Regions from separate parts of the Homo sapiens genome. Here all the other regions are linked to region 3. The links are contacts of gene promoters, found by promoter capture Hi-C in human tissues and cell types (Jung and others, 2019). All regions are on one chromosome and are shown on one strand. Each heading gives the region's core, a stretch centred on a gene start or on the middle of the fragment in contact. The rest is flanking DNA. Distances are from core to core; before and after follow the strand shown.

Region 1 (2,884 bases), core at 280-2,779, 48 kb before region 3:
GATGAAGATAAACACAGAGATAAATAATTCTAATAGGTACAATTTAGAGACATGCAAAGAAGGGGAATGATAAACATCAAGTGATTATTTATCTCCGCATTTCCCAAGGACTGAGTCAAGTAGCATCTTCTCATGATAATTTTGGTGATCACCAGGAAAGCTTTTTATTAGATAACGATTTATTGCAGAAAATACATAAAAAACTAATACTTTTGCAGAGATTAATTTTGTGTGAGGTTAAAGTAGACATTTAATTTAAAGAAGTTAGTCACTGAAAGTAAAATATTCAGTAAATAAGAGTTTCGACAGAACATAGCCACTGCAACAGTAGTGGAGCAGAGGTGAGCACAACCGAGGCTGCGGCAGGAGAATGGCGTGAACCCGGGAGGCGGAGCTTGCAGTGAGCCGAGATCGCGCCCCTGCACTCCAGCCTGGGCAACAGAGCCAGACTCCATCTCAAAACAAAAACAAAAACAAAAAGAAAACCAACAACTGAAGCTTGGCACATGTTAATCTGTCCCAACCAGGCACACATTGCCTTGGTAATGATAATTATAATTAAATATTAGTATAGCTTCCCTGTGTTGAGGGTTTACTCTGTGTCAAGCATTATGTTATGGACTTTATATCTCATTTAACAGTCACAATCTCCCAAGGACGCTTATATTTTCTTGAGACAACAGAGGCTGAGAGAACGTAATGAAATGGCACAGATAACTAAAAGTTTATTCTTTAATTGCCATGCAACTACACCCAGTAGGAGCCAAATATTGGAGGAAAGGATCGCTAAAGATTTTGACCTTGTAAATTTTGACTTTGAGTGAGAAAAGCAAGTGCCAGATGAATAAATAACCCTTTTTGAGAGGTGCTATGAATAAGTATTATGAGCATGCAGGGCAGGAGAGGATTGGGGATGGAAGCCAGGTCAGGGAAGGGTTCCTTGAGGAGATGATGCTGAAGTGGGCTCGGACGAATGCATCAGCATTAACTAGGCGTTAACAAAGGAAGCTCTAAGTGGAAGTGCCTGGGAGAACACACACAGAGGCCCCTGTGGTGGAGCCAGAGAGCTTCACGGTGCCACGGACCGTGGTGGAGCCAGAGAGCTTCACGGTGCCACGGACCGCGGTGGAGCCAGAGAGCTTCACGGTCCCACAGACTGTGGTCCCAGCGGGCCTCTGTTTCTGCAGCCTTGCCCAAAGTAGGTTGTCAACATTTTGAATTACTGACAAATTCAAGGGTAAGAAACGTTATCTCCGGTAGATTTAGTTTGCATTTTCCTTATTAAGAACATCTTTTATAAGCTTAAGAACAATTTACATTCTTCTGTAAACTACTTCTTACATTCTTTGCCTATTTTCCTGTTTGTTTCCTCATTCATTTGAAAAAGCATCTCATAGATTAAGTTAGTTTCTTGTCTATGATATAAGACATATATTTGCTTTCTAATTTAACATTTATTTCATCTTTATTATTTTAAATTTTTAGTTATGTGAAAAATTTTAATTATTATTATTATTATAATTTTTTTTTTGAGACAGAGTTTTGCTCTTGTTGCCCAGGCTGGAGTGAATGGAACGATCTCAGCTCACCTCAACCTCCGCCTCCCAGGTTCAAGCGATTCTCCTGCCTCAGCCTCCCGAGTAGCTGGGACTACAGGCATGCACCACCACGCCCAGCTAATTTTGTATTTTTAGTAGAGACAGGGTTTCTCCATGTTGGTCAGGCTGGTGTCTAACTCCTGACCTCAGGTGATCTGCCTGTCTCGGCTTCCCAAAGTGCTGGGATTACAGGCGTGAGCCACTGCGCCCGGCCTTATTTTAAAAGTCAAATCAATCTGTGATTTTTGTTGTTTTTGAGTTTAATATACTGAGGAGGCTAATATATTCCAATTTTATAAAAGTATTCAACTGTGTTTTCTTTTAGCACTTTTATGGTATCAGTTTTGAAGTGTAAGTATGTGAACATTGGGATTTATTTTGGTTTAAAGTGTGAGGTAGAGATACAATTAATTTTTTTCTTCAAATAGCTCCTCTTGTTGCAACACTATTTGTAGAATAATCCATCTTTCTCAATTGATTTGAAATATCACCTTTATCAATACTAGATTTCCATATGTATTTGAGTCTTTTACTGGACTTCATTCTGTTTCATTGATGAGTCTATATCTTCATATTCTAGTAATACTGTGTTTTCAATGTTATTATTATTATTTTATTCATTTATTTATTTACTTATTTGTTTATTTATTTTGAGACGGAGTCTCGCTCTATCTCCCAGGCTGGAGTGCAGTGGCCCAGTCTCTGCTCACTGCAACCTCTGCCTCCCAGGTTTAAGTGATTCTCCTGCCTCAGCCTCCCAAGTAGCTGGGATTACAGGTAACTGCCACCACGCCCAGCTAATTTTTGTATTTTTAGTAGAGATGGGGTTTCACCATATTAGCCAGGCTTGTCTCGAACTCCTGACCCTGTGATTCATCTGCCTTGACCTCCCAAAGTGCTGGGATTACAAGCGTGAGCCACTGCACCCAGCCTAATTATTATTGTTTTATTATCTTGTAGGGCTAATTACTTGCATAAAGTATTTCTCAGATTTATACTTTTGCCTGTTATTCTTATTCACTTATTTTTCCATACCTTCTTCAGAATCAGATTTCTAGTTTAAAAAATTCCTGTTAAAATTGTTATTGAGCATTAGATGGAAGCAGCATGGGTAGGAGCCGTGGGGCTGTTTCCGGGAGGGTATTCCAGGCCTAATGGCCAGCATGTGTCAGGGCCTCGACTGGCAGTGCGTGTTGTGTGTTTGAAGAACAGGGGAGTTGGAGTTACTGCAGCAGAGAGTTCAGTCTGAGGAGGGGAGATGGGAGATAATGCCCTAGTGGGGGTGG
Region 2 (3,159 bases), core at 94-2,593, 49 kb after region 3:
TGTCTCCCCATGCCTCAGTCCCCTCATCAGGAAAATGTGTTTGAAAATAATATCCGGGCCAGTACATGGTAACCTCAGCAAGTTGGGAGGCCCAGGCAGGAGGATCGCTTGAGCCCCGCTCAAGACCAGCCTGGGCAATATAGTGAGACCCCAAGTAATACTATTACCAAAAATAAAAAGAATGAGCCAGGTATGGTGGCACACACCTGTGGTCCCAGTTACTAAGGAGGCTGAGGTGGGAGCATCACTTAAGCCTGGGAGGTCGAGGCTGCAGTGAGCCGTGATTGTGCCATTGCATTCCAGCCTGAGCGACAGAGCGATACCCTCTCTCAAAAAAAAAAAAAAAAAAAAAGGAAATAATACTGCTTCACAGGGCTGTCTAGGGCTGTCGTATGCATGAAATGACATAACACTTGTACTTGGAGCATCACTTAATTTCAGGTGTAAGCACTCAACAGTGCTAACTATGAATCGCTCCTCACCAAGCTTGGACGTCTACACTAGCATGACGCTGTTTGAGGTTTTAGACACTGCCCTGATTCCTCACAGTTCTGACCAAGAACCTGAAACTGAGGTCGGAATATTGCCTTCTATTCCTCCCATTTCTGCCTGGGGGTCCTGGTTCTGTCCTTACTGTCCTTACGGAAACTCTACCTCACCAGTTTTGCAATGGCCTCTGTGGGGTCCCCCAGTAACCCTTCTCCCCTACTTCACTTTCTTTCTGTGCCCTGACCAAGAATCACAGAGTGTCCTGACAGCTCTTCACCCAGCCAGGTGCAAGCTTCTCCCAGCACGCCCAAACCCAAACCGGGCCCAAACCGGAGTCTCGAACATTCCCAGACACTCATTAAGGTCTCGAGGTTGTCGCCCGAAACACGGAAAGAAACTGGCCCTGGCCCCTAACCAAATTTCTTAAAACTCTCACATTCCATAATCCCTGAACCCCTCACTGCAGACACACGCAGGTAGAACACCTTTTTTTTGAGATGGAGTTTCACTCTGTCACCCAGGCTGAAGTGCAGTGGAGTGGTCTCAGCTCACTGCAGCCTCTGCCTCCCGGGTTCAAGCAATTCTCGTGTCTCAGCCTCTTGAGTAGCTGAGATTACAGGCGCATACCACCACGCCCTGCTAATTTTTGTATTTTTAGTAGAGACGGGGTTTCACCACGTTGGCCAGGCTGGTCTTGAACTCCTGACCTCAGGTGATCCGCCCGCCTCAGCCTCCCAAAGAGCTGGGATTACAGGTTTGAGCCACTGTGCCCAGTCTCTCTTTTTTTTTTTTCTGGTTATTATATAAATACTTTTTAAAAATGTAATTTAATTTTCAGTTCTGGAATGTATGTGCAGGACACGCAGGTTTGTTACATAGGTAAACATGTGCCACGGTGGTTTGCTGAACCTATCACCCCGTCATTTAGGTATTTAAGCCCCGCATGTATTCACTATTTATCTTGATGTTCTCCCTCCCCCTGCCCCACCGACAGGCCCCAGTGTGTGTTGTTCCCCTCCCTGTGTCCATACAGAGCACCCCTTTCTCTCCAAGGATCGCTGTGGCCTCTGTAAGCTCCCCTCATAACTGCTCTGAACTGAGCACCCTGCTGATGAGGGCTTCTTTCTTTGGAATCCCAATCGACCCCATCCTGGAACAGTTCAGAGTACTCCCTTGTGGGAATTCCCCCGCCGCTGCTTTTGGGGTGATTCCAGCGTTGGGTTGGCTGGACAAAACAGCCTCGAAGCATACTGCCCCAAATCTGGTCCTTCTGAGTTTCTGATTCCCTCACTCTTCATCTCTTATGACGCCTTCCTAAACATTCCTGAGAGTTTCAAACATTGTCTTTCATTTGACTCAGGGATTCATCATCCGCTTCCTGTTGAAATAGTAAACGCCTCCACATGGACTCACGGGTTCACCTCCTTCCGGTCTGAACAGTGAACTCCTCCGCATCAACTCACCCATTCACCCCTTCCGGTCTAAACAGTGAACGCCTCCGCATGGACTCACGAGTTCACCTCCTTCCGGTCTAAACAGTGAACGCCTCCGCATCGACTCACGGGTTCACCTCCTTCCGGTCTGAACAGTGAACTCCTCCGCATGGACTCACGGGTTCACCTCCTTCCGGTCTGAACAGTGAACGCCTCCGCATCGACTCACGGGTTCACCTCCTTCCGGTCTGAACAGTGAACTCCTCCGCATGGACTCACGGGTTCACCTCCTTCCGGTCTGAACAGTGAACTCCTCCGCATCGACTCACGGGTTCACCTCCTTCCGGTCTGAACAGTGAACTCCTCCGCATGGACTCACGGGTTCACCTCCTTCCGGTCTGAACAGTGAACTCCGCATCGACTCACGCGTTCACCTCCTTCCGGTCTAAATGGTAAACTCCTCTGCATTGTAAGTCAGTGTCTAGAGTGGTGATTTGCTTTCTGGGGTGTGTTTTTCACAGTGATGGTGGATCCACAAATTTCAAACAAATTCTTTCTCCACCAGTTCTGTTCGGTTCTATTTTGGTGGGGCCCACGCGTCATCACAGAGTATCTGGGAGCCCTGCCCTCTTGCAGATGGGAATGAAGGCCCAGGTGCTCTGGAGAGGTGACTCTCCTCTAGGTGAGGGGTGTGTGTGTGAGAGGAGTGAGGTGCGGTGTGGGAGGGTCCTTGCAGGGTCCGGCTGCTTTCGGAGGCTGTTTTTCTCAGCTCCCCGTTTTGTCCCTCCAAATTGTGCCCCTCTCCTTCCAATTGTCACTCTCCTTTCCCCCAACCCTCCCTGTCTCCCAGTTGTCTCGCTTCTCAGAAAGGAAACACTGGTTCTGTAAACCTGTTTGAGAAGAAAAGCTCGAGGTTTCTTGGCCTCTCTGCTTCTGGAGCCAGGGGAAAAAATAGCCCCAGGCTGAAGACAGGAGGGACCAGATTGCTGCTTGGTGATGCGATCTCACTGCAGAGGCAGCCAGGAGACCCTCCTGAGACGAATCGGAGAGTCCATGCTGCTTTTACACACATCCTAGTTCTTTTATAACTAGCCTTTTCCTATTAACGGACATCATTCAAAAGCCAGTTTTAAGCAACATAAATATTGAAAACAATACTATACTATTTAGAATTAATTATAAGTTTTGTTTTTAAAGCCTAAATCTTTTATTGTTGTTTGAACCCTGGGCACTGAAG
Region 3 (3,254 bases), core at 376-2,875:
CACCAAAACAAAGAAATTCACCAACTCAAATTTTTCCTTGAGCTCTCAGCAGCAGTTAACATAGCTGACCACACCCTTCTTCCTAGAATGTTTTCTTCTCTCATCTGTCTGCAGCTGACATTCCTCTAACTTGTCTGGTCTTGTTCTCCGTGGCCTTTTCTGGTCCCACATCCTCTGAACCTCTCAATCTTGGGGTGCTTCAAGGTTGAGTTCTGGTCTCCCAGTCCTGGTCTCTCCCTAGGTAATCTTACTCGTTTCTGAAGATTTAAGTTCCATTCTCCGATTTCAATCTCCTGCCCAATTCCCAACATTTTTGCAATAGAATGTCTAAGGAGCACTCAAAATTAACATATCTAAAGCCGCTCAGGATCTCAACCCAGTGGCTCTCTTCCCCCAAACTCATTCCTTTAGAGCCACAGTTTAAGCCTTCCTTTCACCAATTCAACTATTGTTTTCCAAATTTATATTCTGTCCTGCCCTCCTCGTCCATCTCCAGCTCCTCTCTGCTCAACCACCAGAATACTATTTTAAAACCAAAACCAAGTGAGCAGGTTTGTGGTCACTTTCTATGGCATTAGAGTAAGATCGAAGTGGGTAATAACCCCGTCCTATACAATCTGGCCTCCTGCCTTCTTCTGATCTCTCTATAGCTTTCCCCCATCACTGTCAATCTAGCTGCCTCTAATTCATCACAGCCCTTCCCCCTTCCGTGGCCAACAGAGCTCTTCTCTCATATTTTTGCAATTCCAGCTGCCTCTTCTTTCTTCTCTTCAGTTCTCAGCTCAAATGTCTTCCCAAGAGAGACCTTTCCATCACTACTCAATTTGAAATACCTTCCCACTACTCATCTCCTTATTTTATTTTCTTAGTAGCGAAAAGATTTTATCTTTCTATGAACAAGTTTACTTGTGGGTCACTCTCCATCCATAAGAAACTAAGTCCTTGAGATGCCCTGTGTCTACATCTGACATACTCGATGCACAATAAATATTGTAAACGATATTTTATGTTAAACCAGTAAAAATTGAAGGTGTAATGAGAGAGGGACAGAGACTAAATATTTTTACAGAAACAGCAAAGGAAAATTGACGAATTAAGTCCCCAGCATGTTGTCTACCCTTATTTTGTTTTTCCTAATATTTTTCTTCAGGCTTTTTCCTGATAACACACAGATACACACACACACACATAGATTCTAAGATCAAGTTTAGAAATCTAAAGAAACAATTATTAAGAAAATGATCTATAGAGAAAATCTCACTTACTTTCTTTGTAGCAATCCTGGGTATTTCCTTTTTTTTTTTTTTTTTTTTTTTTGAGACAGGGTCTTGCTCTGTCACCCAGGCTGGAATGCAGTGGCGCAATCTCGGCTCACTACAGCCTCGAGCTCCCAGGCTCAAGTGATTCTCCCACCTTGACCTCCTGAGTAGCTGGGATTACAGGCGCTGCACGACCACACCCGGCTAATTTTTGTATTTTTTGTAGAGACGGGGTTTCAGTATTTTTCCCAGGCTGGTCTTGAACTCCTGGGCTCAAGCAATCTGCCTGCTTCAGCCTCCCAAAGTACTGGGATTACAGGAATGAGTCACCACACCGAACCAAGGTATTTCCTTTAGGGAAAAAGCTGGAACAGTGGAGACTGAAGAGATTTTATCTGTTCAATTCCTCCCTCAGCCCCGCCCTCACACCATCAGGAAGGCGTCTGTGAAGTTTCTTATCATATTCACACAATTAATCTCATTAGAACCACCTGAGTTTATTAAAACGCAAGCCTCTTCACAGGGTCTCTGATTCCAGAAATCTACGGTGGGGTCCGTAATTTACATTTTTAATGGACTCCCAGAAAATGCTTAATAGCCCTGACCTTGGTTGGATAAATATCTTGTTTTATCTCCAGTGCCATGTACAGTGCCTAACACCTCTAGCTCCTTAAGGTTTGGGGTTTTCTTTCTTAATGAATCTAGTGTATATTGACAATTTCACAGGAAAGAAGCCTTCGAGCTAACACTCAAGACTGTGTTTGTTCCTTAGTAGAAAATAATGCCTGACTTGTTAGTTTCTAGAACGTTTGCTGGAGAAGTGTTCATTCCAGTATCTGTGGAAAGAAAAACCAAGAGTAGGGATAACTGCCTATGGAATCTGTCACAGATGGGAGGTCAGGGAACAATCCCAGATAATTCATACTTGATATTTGGCTTCAGTGAGGAGGAACTCTTCACAGCTTTCTAAGTTTTATAGTTTTGTCCCCGAGGGTTTTTATTGCATCAGTCAGTCAATCCCCTGCTAATCAAACCAGGGAGTTTTTTTCTTTATGCTGCTGACAGGATAATGAGAATTCTTCTGCTTTGCTTATCTGATCTTTCAGAACCTGGTTCTACCTTATGGAATCTCAATACACCGTTTCTCTTTTTCTTTTTTCTTTCTTTTTTTTTTTTTTTAGATGAGAGTCTCACTCTGTTGCCTAGGCTGGAGTGCGGTGGAGCGATCTCGGCTCACTGCAGCCTCCGCCTCCCAGGTTCAAGCAATTTTCCCACTTCAGCCTCCCGAGTAGCTGGGATTATAGGCGCCCACCACACCCAGCTAATTTTTGTATTTTTAGTGGAGATGGGGTTTCACCATGTTGGCCAGGCTGGTCTCAAACTCCTGACCTCAGGTGACCCACCCTCCTTGGCCTCCAAAAGTTCTGGCCACCGCGCCTGGCCATACACCCTTTCTCTTATCTCAGATGATTACCTACACCCACTCTCTTTTCCAAAACCCAATTCCCCAGCTTTCTTCAAATAGACCACATTTATTCCTGTGCCCCCTCCCCTCCTCAGCCAGTCCATCCTCCTTTACTTCTCTTATTTTTCTAATCCAATCTTCCTTTCTCTTCTAAGCCTGGGTACGGCCAACGTCTGTGAAGATACTCACACATACTTGTTGTCAGATACTCTGTCATTTACTCTCACCATCCCTTGAGCTTTCATAACTCTTGAGCTTACTCATCTTGACAAGAAAACTTTGTAATCTTTGAATCAAATGGAAAATAAACATCAAGCATATTGTCAGGTTTTGAAGTCTCTTAAAGCCTGTTTTAGAGTATTAAATGCTTAAATAAATACTTATTAAAGCCTGTTTTACTATTAAATAAATATTTATTAATAATTAAATTATTAATTCTAGAAGAGTCAATATTTTAAGATAATTCTAAAAACATTACAAAAAAGTGTGCTAAACCCTTATTTACTGTTACATGCCCCACCTGTTGCATG

Evidence for each region. Contacts are between HindIII fragments. The study calls those that stand out against the background at their distance.
Region 1: a contact is called between a fragment that was not itself captured here and the fragment with the promoter of TRIML2 in region 3, in 2 of the 25 tissues and cell types used here (H1 embryonic stem cells and hippocampus).
Region 2: a contact is called between a fragment that was not itself captured here and the fragment with the promoter of TRIML2 in region 3, in 1 of the 25 tissues and cell types used here (spleen).

What each region holds. Positions count from the first base shown.
Region 1 is chr4:188,060,194-188,063,077 of GRCh38, forward strand. No RefSeq gene overlaps it. Among named protein-coding and RNA genes, the nearest start is that of TRIML2, 48 kb to the right of the region's middle. The HindIII fragment of the contact is 3,324 bases long and covers 1-2,884 here.
Region 2 is chr4:188,157,729-188,160,887 of GRCh38, forward strand. It overlaps LINC02434 (long intergenic non-protein coding RNA 2434), which reads left to right and starts at 2,325. Exons shown (of 2, transcript NR_187427.1): 1 at 2,325-2,374; 2 at 2,773-3,159. RefSeq lists an enhancer at 1,522-2,721. The HindIII fragment of the contact is 3,258 bases long and covers 1-2,972 here.
Region 3 is chr4:188,107,978-188,111,231 of GRCh38, forward strand. It overlaps TRIML2 (tripartite motif family like 2), which reads right to left and starts at 1,626. Exons shown (of 8, transcript NM_173553.4): 1 at 1,266-1,626. RefSeq lists enhancers at 1-138, 139-657. The HindIII fragment of the contact is 13,208 bases long and covers 1-3,254 here.